Linked DNA regions of Homo sapiens: region 2 is linked to region 1. Evidence: promoter capture Hi-C in human tissues and cell types (Jung and others, 2019). All regions are on one chromosome and are shown on one strand. The core of a region is centred on a gene start or on the middle of the fragment in contact, and the rest is flanking DNA. Distances in the headings are between cores, read along the strand shown.

What was found. The method cuts DNA at HindIII sites, captures the fragments that hold promoters and counts their contacts. A contact is called where the count stands out against the background at its distance.
Region 2: a contact is called between the fragment with the promoter of HYLS1 here and the fragment with the promoter of VSIG2 in region 1, in 1 of the 25 tissues and cell types used here (small bowel).

Annotation. Positions count from the first base shown.
Region 1 is chr11:124,749,985-124,754,986 of GRCh38, forward strand. VSIG2 (V-set and immunoglobulin domain containing 2) reads right to left here and starts at 2,271. Exons shown (of 7, transcript NM_014312.5): 1 at 2,093-2,271; 2 at 1,439-1,596; 3 at 730-937. The coding sequence starts at 2,153. It overlaps ESAM (endothelial cell adhesion molecule), which reads right to left. Exons shown (of 7, transcript NM_138961.3): 5 at 4,657-4,779; 6 at 4,230-4,356; 7 at 3,142-3,977. The coding sequence ends at 3,662. RefSeq lists enhancers at 1,469-2,030, 4,389-4,683. The HindIII fragment of the contact is 14,367 bases long and covers 1-4,864 here.
Region 2 is chr11:125,885,185-125,890,186 of GRCh38, forward strand. It overlaps HYLS1 (HYLS1 centriolar and ciliogenesis associated), which reads left to right and starts at 2,484. Exons shown (of 3, transcript NM_001134793.2): 1 at 2,484-2,581. RefSeq lists an enhancer at 2,192-2,241 and silencers at 2,382-2,431, 2,522-2,571, 2,672-3,061. The HindIII fragment of the contact is 15,201 bases long and covers 1-5,002 here.

The DNA.
Region 1 (5,002 bases), core at 1,021-3,520:
CTCTTGGGTCCACACACCACTGCATCCCCAGGAACTGAGGGATTTCCACTATTGGAAATTCTGATTGTTAGAGAAAATTCTTCTTCATGTTGAGCCAAAATGTGTGTTAACATAACCTCCACCCATTGGTTTCAGTTCCTGCCCTTTGGGCCCACAAAGAGAAATTAAAATCTCTCCTCCACATGACAGCCCTTTGGATAGTTGAATCCAGCAGTAATACACCCATCCGAGGCCTTCTCTTTTCCATCTAAACACTGCCAGTCTCTGTGATAGTTTTTCTGGTTGCTCATCTCTGAAAAGGCTCTAGTTTGGGGTGAGACAGAAGCTCTGAGCACGAAGTTGGTGCTCAGTAATAGGGGCCCTTGTTCCTTTGGTGGCCACTCCCCTTCTCTGCCATTGACCTTGGGAGGGACAGAATCCAACTACCGATGAGAGCCTCCCCCATGATGGAGCTGCTGGGAGCAGGCTCAGATCCCCATGTATGGGAAGGACTTTCTCTCACACACTCTGTTATTAGGCTCTGATGGAGGAGATGCTCTCGGTGGAGGGTGGAGTTGGAGTATGACCATCTGAATTAGAAGACTTGGAAAGGGAGTATTTTCACTTGGGGCCCCCAGTGCAGTTGTGTGCTTGGGCTAAAAGTCAGAAACCAGAGATTTAGCAAGACCAGTGCAAACGCCCCAAGTATGTGAAAGAGTATGTGGCTCGTGGATCCCCAGTCTGCCTTACCCAGCACAGTAAGGTTGATTAGCCCCAACCCATTGGTGTAGAAATCTGGTGGGTTGTTGACTTGGCAGAGGTAGGTTCCAGTATCTGAGGGGTGGACGTCAGTCAGTTTCAGTGTGGCCACCCCCACTGTGGGGGGGTTCTGAAGCAGGCTGACCCGCTTTGACTTAGAACCAGTTGGATACAGATGGCCATTGGTGAAGTACAGGATCTGGGGAGAGGCAGAAGACACACATATGTGCCTGTTTCTGCCTGGCATCAACTCTACAGTCCTTCCTCATCAAAGTGGGTATAAGAGGCCTCTGACTTACATCAGCCAGGGAGGCTGATACCCTTAAGCTGGAACTCCAAAGGTCTCTCTGTCCCCAAACACCACCCCCTTTCAGGTGCTAAATGAACCTGATCCATTGGTCTCTCTCTCTCTCTCTCAAAGAGAGAGGCAGAAGAGGCAGCATATTATCTTGGTATCAGTCACAACACCTTAGTGTCAATGGATACACTAAGGCAGGGGAGTTGGAAATAGGAGCTATGGAAGAGGAAAGGAAGATACACGGTCAGGCAGACTGCAGCTCTGAAAAGATCTAGGGAGAGCCCACTTACCTTTTCATCCAAGCATACTGATCCCCAAACTCCCCCTCCCGACCCCATGCCCTCATCCTGGGCTCCTGTCCCTCCAGGCCAACCCAGCTTCATGCAGTCGCTCTCAGCTCACTGGATGGGACTCAGAGATGGGTTTCCCAGGCTGCACAAAGCTCCACTCCAGGGCGAAGCTGTCTCCCACCGACGTGCTGTAGGTGCAGGTCAGCTCGGCTGTCTTCCCCAGGGGCGTGCTCAGCGGCTCTGTGGGTACCTTCACCTCCACGGCCAGCCCTGGGGCCGGGGACCAGAGGGAGGTGGGAACCCAAATTCCAGTGATCTGGAGGGTCGGGCCCACCCCCGGGCATCTATATTGGAAGCTGGGGGCTCCCTCCCCAGAGCACAACCCTCTCCCCTCAATCCAACCCCTCCCTTCCCAAAACCTGAGGTTTCCGGGAGGGGCCGGGTCTTTGTGGGTAAAAGAGCCGGAACCGGGCCAGGTAAGAGGGTGTGTGTGTTTAGCAGAGAAAGGAAAACACTAGCCCTGCGGTGGGGTGGTTCAGGCCTGTGCCGCGGAGAGGCCCAACTCGCTCGCCGGCTTGGGGGTCTCTCTCCTACGCCCTCCGGGCCTTGGACACCCCCTCTCCGGCCTCACCTCAGGCGCCTTAGGGCCCCTGGCGCCCACGGCAGCCTCATCTGGCCTGGCGGGGACAGAGTGGGTCCGAGGAGCCGGGGAAGCCAGGCCTATGCCCCCCAGCCCTCGCCGTGGTCCCGCCCGGCCCCTCCTCACCACTCAGGCACAGGAAGCCTAGCAGGGCCCCGCAGAGAAAGGGCCCCGGGAGCTCGGCCATGGCCGCGTCCGGCCGTCCTGTCCTGCTCCTGCCAGGTGGGCGGTCAAGGTCGGTCTGGGTGTCGGGCAGGGAAGGGAGCACCCAAGGGCAGCCGCCCGGGCTGGGCAGGAGCGAGACTGGTATCTCAGAGCAAACAGGGGAGAGGCCGGCGCCGCAGGTTAAAAAAAAAAAAAAGTGCTCCTCCCTCCTCTCCTCCAGCCCCGATTCTGCAATCCCTCTGTCCCTTCTTCCTCCTTCCTTCCTCTTCTCCCCAAGGTCTGAAGCTGTCCGGCCTTGGGAAAAGCGCTGGGCTTGGGGTGGGCCTTCTGCAGAGACGGAAGGAAAGCTGACTTTGGAAGGCGTCCTGATACCCCAGAGCTGGCAAGGGGAGTCCCCACCTCGGAGCCTCACTGTGAGTGTGAGCCCCAGGCCGCAGACCCTTCCTGTCCACAGCGCTTTTCATTTCACCACTTACTGAGGTAGGAGTCTCTGTAGAAATGAGCATCTCTCCATTTCCAGAGCCACTCCATTTTAGGGGCAGAGAAACTGAGACCTAAAGGAGACCTCACCCTTGGTAGGAAAGAACATGGCAGAACTTGGACACAGACCTGCACCTCATACTATGCCCAGCTCTCCCTCAGTAACAACAGAGATCTCTTCCAGATGGGCAAGGAGTGTTTTGTTAAGGATTCCGTGGTGTGGGAGAGGAGCCCACGTGAGCTTCCTCTCCCCTGTCCCTGAAGAGGAAGCAGATGAGGTACACGTACCCCCTAGCCGGGAGCACTCAAGCTCCAGCAGAAAGCGTATCAACTCCATCCCTCTGCTGTTCAGAGTAGCTTAGAGTCTCCTCCCCTTCTCCACGTGACAAACAAGGACCCTTCTAAACACTAGAAGAGCTGCTCTAAGCCTGTGGGGGGAAGCCCTCCTGGGTACACAGCTTGGGAAGGGGTCCACTTTGCATCCTCCTGAAGCTCAATTTCAAGAATTCTTAGTTTGAAAAGGCAACTTGTTTCTTATCTCATACAAACATTATGTATCTTTATTTAAATTTGCAAATGAAAACAACACATATTTCATGTTAGTTTTAATAAGAGATTCCCTATCCTCTGCCCCAGTAAAACCTAACCAAGCCAGCCTGACAGGTTATATCAATACAGGGAGCTGGAGTGGGAGCCAAGGGTGGTGTTAGATAGGGGTGGGGTACAGATCAAGGGGGCCTGGGAGACTCAGTGACTGGAAGTCTCTGCCCCTCACTCTTGGTGAGTAGCTAATTTCAGCAGCTGGCTTCATAAGGAGGAGTCAGGGGTGGGTGGAGGCTCCTCCCAATTCCAGATCCACTTCCTCTTCTCCTTCTGTCTCCTGGACACTTAGGTCTTACTGAGATGGTTTTCCCACAGTAAAGAGAGGTGGGGGCAGAGTACTAAGGGTCAGGAGTGTGACTCTTTCCCATGACTCAGGCCTCTGTGCTAGAGGTGACCCTTATAGGAAGGAGAGACCCCAAATCCTTTAGCCAATGAGTGGTGGGGTCATCATACCAGAGAGCCAGCTTGACTCTGGGCAGGCACCATCACAGGCACAGCACCCATGCGGCTCAAGCCAGAGGAAGAAACCCCACCAGGGATGGGGGATATTGGTTGAGGGTGGGCCCCATCTGTCGTGGGCAGTCTTGGTGAGGGCAGGGCCTGGCTGGAGAGACTGGGCGTGGGGGTCAATGCACCAGGCCTGGGAGGGCCATGGGGTGGCCGGAGGGCTCGTGCGGAGGTGACAGAGGAAAGGGTCCCATTCTTGGAGATTGTGTCTGAGCTCTTGGGCCAGGGCAGGGTCCGGGGAGCAATGGCATCCTCCCTAGTCATCAAAGAAATAACAAGAGGTCAGAAGTGGGTGGGGGAAGGAGGAGAGAGTTTCTACCTGCTTGGTCTTATATACCACCTCTGCCTGCACACTTCAGTACTCCTTTCCCTCTCCCTTAAAACCTGCCCATAGGAATGATGTTTCAGCCACTGACCCCATCCCAATAGATGAGAGCTGCCTGAATTCCCAGCCTCTGTGAGGAGAGCTGGGAGAGCCCCCGCTGCAGCAGACACCAGGGACACTTACTTGATATCATTGGCTGGCTCCTCCAGGGCCTTGCCCCGGCGGTGGTACAAGAGGACCAGCCCAGCCAGCAACCCCAGTCCAACCAGGGTACCCACAACAGCTCCAGCAACCACTGCAGCTCCAGGCCCTGGAAAAGGCGTCGTGTCAGAGGAGGACACCCAGCTGAGGGGTTCTCACCCCTCTCCAATCCCACTCTCCCCACCCCATCTGCCACCATACACATTCCCTCTTTTTCCCTGTCAAGAAGAGGGGTGGCTGTTGAGCAGGAAATGACCAGTCACTGACCAACCATTTGTACAAACATTTGATCAGGGGAAGCTCCGTGCCCTGCTACAGAGACAGGCCTCAGCAGACAGGCCTCCTCCCCACTTGCAACCCCTCCCCCACCATTGACCACTCTTCTTAACCACACTTACCCCTCACTGACCTGTGCTCACTTCCAGCGTCACATTACATTGGGCAGTGCCCACCTCATTGTGGGCCTTGCAGACATAGACTCCAGCCATGGAAGACGAAAGGTTGGTGAGGCTTAAAGACCCACGGATGACATCTGTGGACACAATTTAGCCATCAGTCCAGGGACCCTCTTTCCCATTAAAAAAAAAAAAAAATCTTGTCCCTCCTCTGGAATGTCCCCTTTGACCCTCTGGGAGTCACGGCTTGTCTATTCCCTGATGGGGGGAGAGGTGTGACAGCTGGGCTTGGCTCCCAGCTGCAGACTGACTAGTGCAATAACCTCCATTGTCACTCCTCAGTCAGTGCCCCCAGTGGAT
Region 2 (5,002 bases), core at 1,234-3,733, 1.1 Mb after region 1:
CTCACGCTGGAAATCCCAGCACTTTGGGAGGTGGAGGCTGGCGGATCGCTTGAGGTCAGAGTTCAAGACTAGCCTGGCCAATATGATGAAACCCTGTCTCTACTAAAAATACAAAAATTAGCTGGGTGTGGTGGCACACGCCTGTAGTCCCAGCTACTCAGGAGACTGAGGCATGAAAATCATTTGAACCTGGGAGGTGGAGGTTGCAGTGAGCCAAGATCGTGCCACTGCACCCCAGCCTGGGCTACAGAGAGAGACTCTGTCTCAAAAAAAATTAAAAAAAAAAGAAAAAGAAACGAACTGGGGGATCCATAAGGAGAATGCTGATGTTCAAAGCTGGAAGAAAAATGATTCCATCTACTCTTTGGTTTCTAAGACAGATTGGAGATTCAAAGCCAAAGAAAAAGTCATGCTGGCATAAGATAAAACCTGAGCATATTAAATTTGCTCCTATGGAAAGAAAAGAATATATGCACTAAAACAAAGGTCCCCAACCCCCAGGCCACGGACAGGCACCTAGGAACCAGGCCGCAAGGCAGGGGGTAAGCCGTAGGAGCTTCATCTGTTTCTACAGCCACTCCCCATCTGGCATTACTGCCTGAGCTCTGCCTTCCGTCGCATGAACAGGGGTGTTAGAGTCTCACAAGAGCGTGAACCCTATTGTGAACTGCGCAAGCCAGGGATCTAGGTTGCATGCTCCTTATGAGAATCTAATGCCTGATGATCTGTCACTGTCTCCCATCACCCCCAGATGGGACCATCTAGTTGCAGAAAAACAAGCTCAGGGCTCCCACTGATTCTACATTACAGTGAGTTGCATAATTATTTCATTATATGTTACAATATAATAATAGAAATAAAGTGCACAATAAATGTAATGCGCTTGAATCATCCCAAAACCATACCCCCTCTCTGAGCCATGGAAAAATTGTCTTCCATGAAACCTGTCTCTAGTGCCAAAAAGGTTGGGACCGCTGCACTAAAGGAGTGTTATGATATTGCAGATGTAGGGGCAGTCACTCAAATCTCCACAACCTACTTCTGTCATCTTCCCTCCTTTGTTCTTTCCATTTTCTTCCTCCCACAAATTCAAAGTGCCTTAGAGGTAGCACAAAGGCCCTGAGGCAAAGAGGGAGAGTAAGAGATAATACGAAGTGTTTGGAGGAAAAGGATTAAACATTTCTCCCCTCCCACTGAATCCTGGATTTAAGAAATGGTGTAAGATGAACTTGACAACTAGCACCTATTTGTTTAAGGTGGAAAATGCAATGCTCAGGACTCAAGACCAGTTGAGATAGGTTTGCTTGGTATTGACTAGGATATTGAACCCTGAGGGCCTCTCCTCTTGCTTTTACAGATCTCATCCTCAGCAATCCCCAAGCACTAGATTTTTTTTTTTTTTTTTTTTTTTTTTTTTACAGGTACAGATGCAAAAAGAGTTAAAACATCGGGTTTAAAAAAAAAATTAGTGGCTGGGCACAGAGGCTCACAACTGTAATCCCAGAGCTTTGGGAGGCCGAGGGGGTAGAATCACCTGACTAACATGGTGAAACCCCATCTCTACTAAAAATACAAAATTAGCCGGGCATGGTGGTGCTCGCCCGTAATCCCAGCTGCTCGGGAGGCTGAGGCAGGAGAATCGCTTGAACCTGGGAGGCAGAGGTTACAGAGAGCTGAGATCGCGCCACTACTCTCCAGCCTGGGCAACTGGGCAACAAGAGGGAAACTCCGTCTCAAAAAAAAAAAAAAAAAAAAGTTGAGAGTAACACCATGTGAAGGAGACAGGCACATTCCAAAAGAAAACAAGTGCATGTCGGAGCAAGGCAGTCGGTGGCTGGAGCACAGTTAGAGTAACGTGGGAGGAGCTGTGGAGACGCAGCCACGGGTCACGCCAGGGCCCTGCACACCATGCAGAGGAAAGGAAGAGCTCAGTGCGCCAGGGTTTCATACAGCCGCTCTCTCAGGCCCCAAGGAAACGTCTAGAGCGCACAGGCGGACTCACCCCAGACTGTTCGAACCGTCCCTGAGCGCCCGCCCTCGTCTCCCGGCACCACTGGCCCCGCAGCAGCCAGTTGAGAAGGGCGGAGGCTGATTCCAATGAAGTGGCAGACCGTTAGGCGGCCTCTCCAAAAAGCCAGCTATGTCGCCGTTAGCCAAGGTTTGAGGGTCTTCTCCTTCTCTTCGAGGGCCCAACCTCCCCTCCAGATTTAGTACACCAGAGGCGTCGCAGCAACGGCTGCTGCCTGCGCGCCTCAGCTAGGCGGGCTCGGATATTTTTAAGGCCACATTGGAAATCCCGGGCATGCTCCCGCCGGCGGAGAAGGCCCAGACAAAATGTGCGCCAATCAGGATACAGACTTGGAGGACGTTTACCCTCAGGACCAATAAGAGGGAGGGCGGACCGGGCCAAGGGTGCCGGTTCGCTCTCCGGATTTAAACCTCAGCGGTCGGCGGTTAACCGCAGGCTCGGCGCGTGGGCCGGCAGTGCGCCTGCGCAAGTTACGCGAAAGCTAACAGAATCTGCGGTGCTCTGCTGGCGACTGGCAGGACGCGGTGCAGAGAGCGGACTTCCGCGACGCGGGTAAGCCGGGCGAAGGCCGGAAGCGGAGGGACGCGGGGACCTGGTGGCTGCCGGCCCACTGCGGCGGGAGCCCTCGCTCCTTTTCCCACCGTCGGGACGGTGCAGAGTGGCAGCTTCCCTCCGTGGATTCCAGGTCCTGCCTGGCGAGCCGTCCCCAACGTCTGCGTTCCTGAGGGAGGCGGCCGGGGCAGCGTGAGCTACAGGCGATGTGCGCGGCGGGCCGCAGCCCCTGGAGGTCACGGTGTGCGCTGGCCGCCGCCGCGGTCTTTGCCCCGGTGGCCTTTCTGAGCTCCTGGGCCGCGCCCCTGGGACCAGGCGGAGGCCGGGGACGGCCCCAGGGCTGGAGGGGAGTCCCGAAGGCCGCTAGCGACCTGGGTCCAAGCCACGCCCACGGCCAGGCGGGGCGACTGCGAGCTTTGCCGTTGAAAGGCGGAGCGTGTCTTGTCGCCTTCTAGCTGCACCTTTTGTGGACTGCAGCATGGAACCGTCCAAGGTGTTTGTCCACCCCGAAATGGAAATAAATCTTTTTTATTCTAAACAGTATACAATCTCACTAAGCAGGCAAAGAAAAACATTAAGATATCTTTTTAGATTGGTAAGATTTTTCAGTACCCCATGCTGCTGAGAGAGTGAAGAAATGAAAGCAAGCACCTTTATGGCCTGTGTGCTGGGGATAATCTGTTTTTCTAGAGGGCAGTTTGGCATTATAAATCAGAATTCAGGCCGGGCGCGGTGGCTCACGCCTGTTACCCCAGCACTTTGGGAGGCCGAGGTGGGCGGATCACGTGAGGTCAGGAGTTCGAGACCAGCCCGACCAATACGGTGAAACCCCGTCTCTACTAAAAATACAAAAATTGGCCGGGCTTGGTGGCGGGCGCCTGTAGTCCCAGCTCCTCGGGAGGCCGAGACAGGAGAATCTCTTGAACCCGGGAGGGAGAGGTTGCAGTGAGCCGAGATCGCGCCACTGCACTCCAGCCTGGGCGACCGAGCAAGACTCTTGTCTCAAAAAAAAAAAAAAAAAAGAGAAAAGAAAAACATAAATCAGAATTCAAGTAGTACCATAACTTCTAAGTCATAATCCAATTCCAGGAGTTTATTCCAAGGACATAAATCGGACAAGAATGCAAACATAGTATGTACATGTTTTTAGCAATCCGAGCAACATTTAGTACGTGTAAAGAAGAAAGAAAATACTCGAAATTTCATCAGTCACAGATAACCATCAAACACTGTTCACATTTAGGTTTACTTCAGATATATTCATAATATATACCTTATATTTATGTGATTTCCTTATAAAATGTGTTTTAAATAATTGCATGTTACAAATATAATAAAGTATGTTAATTTAAAAGAACGTCAGTTAAGCAGATTATACATTATTGAGTCAGTAATAAATTGGGAACACATTTCTCTGTCAGTGTCGATACGCATTACCATTTTTAATGGATGCGTGGCGTTTGTTGCTATGGCTGTATTGTATCATATATTATTTAACCAGTCCCCTACTAATGTACATTTGTTTCCAGTCTCTTCATAATCATAAAATGGTATGGTAGTGGTCACTTGTATGTATACATGTTTGCATTCTTGTCCAATTTATGTCCTTGGAATAAATTCCTGGAAGTGGATTATGACTTAGAAGTTGTGGTACAGTTTAAATTCTGATTCAAAATGCCAAACTGGGCCGGGCGCGGTGGCTCACACCTGTAATCCCAAGCACTTTGGGAGGCGGAGGCGGGCGGATCACTTGAGATTGGGAGTTTGAAACCAGCCTGGCCAACATGGTGAAACCAAGTCTCTACTAAAAATAGAAGAAAAATTAGCCGGGCGTGGTGGCAGGTGCCTGTGATCCCAGCTACTCGGGAGGCTGAGGCAGGAGAATCGCTTGAACCTGAGAGGCAGAGGTTGCGGTGAGCCGAGATCAGGCCACCGCAACTCCAGCCTGGGCGACAGAGAGAGACTCGTCTCAAAAAACAACAACAATAATAATAATGCCAAACTGCCCTCTGGAAAAACGGATTATCCCCAACACACAGGGCATAATAAGGATGCTTGTTTTTATTTCTTCACACACTTGCCAGCACCGGGTACTGAAAAAATCTTATCAATCTGAAATGATGTCTTAATGCTTTTATACACATTACTGAAATTGAACATGTTTTCTGTTTATTAATTTTTGTTGCTGTTTAGAAACAGACGTTGGCTTTGTGCCCAGGCTGGAGTGCAGTGGCCAGATCATAGCTCAGTGCAGCCTCAAACTCCAGGGTTCAAGCGGTCCTCTTGCTTCAGCCCCCATAGTACTGAGACTACAGGTTTATGCCACCACGCCTAGCTAATCTTTTTTCTTTTTTTTTGAGAGATGGGGGTCTTGCTGTGTTGCACAGGCTGGTCTTGAACTCCTTCACAGCCTCAAGCGAT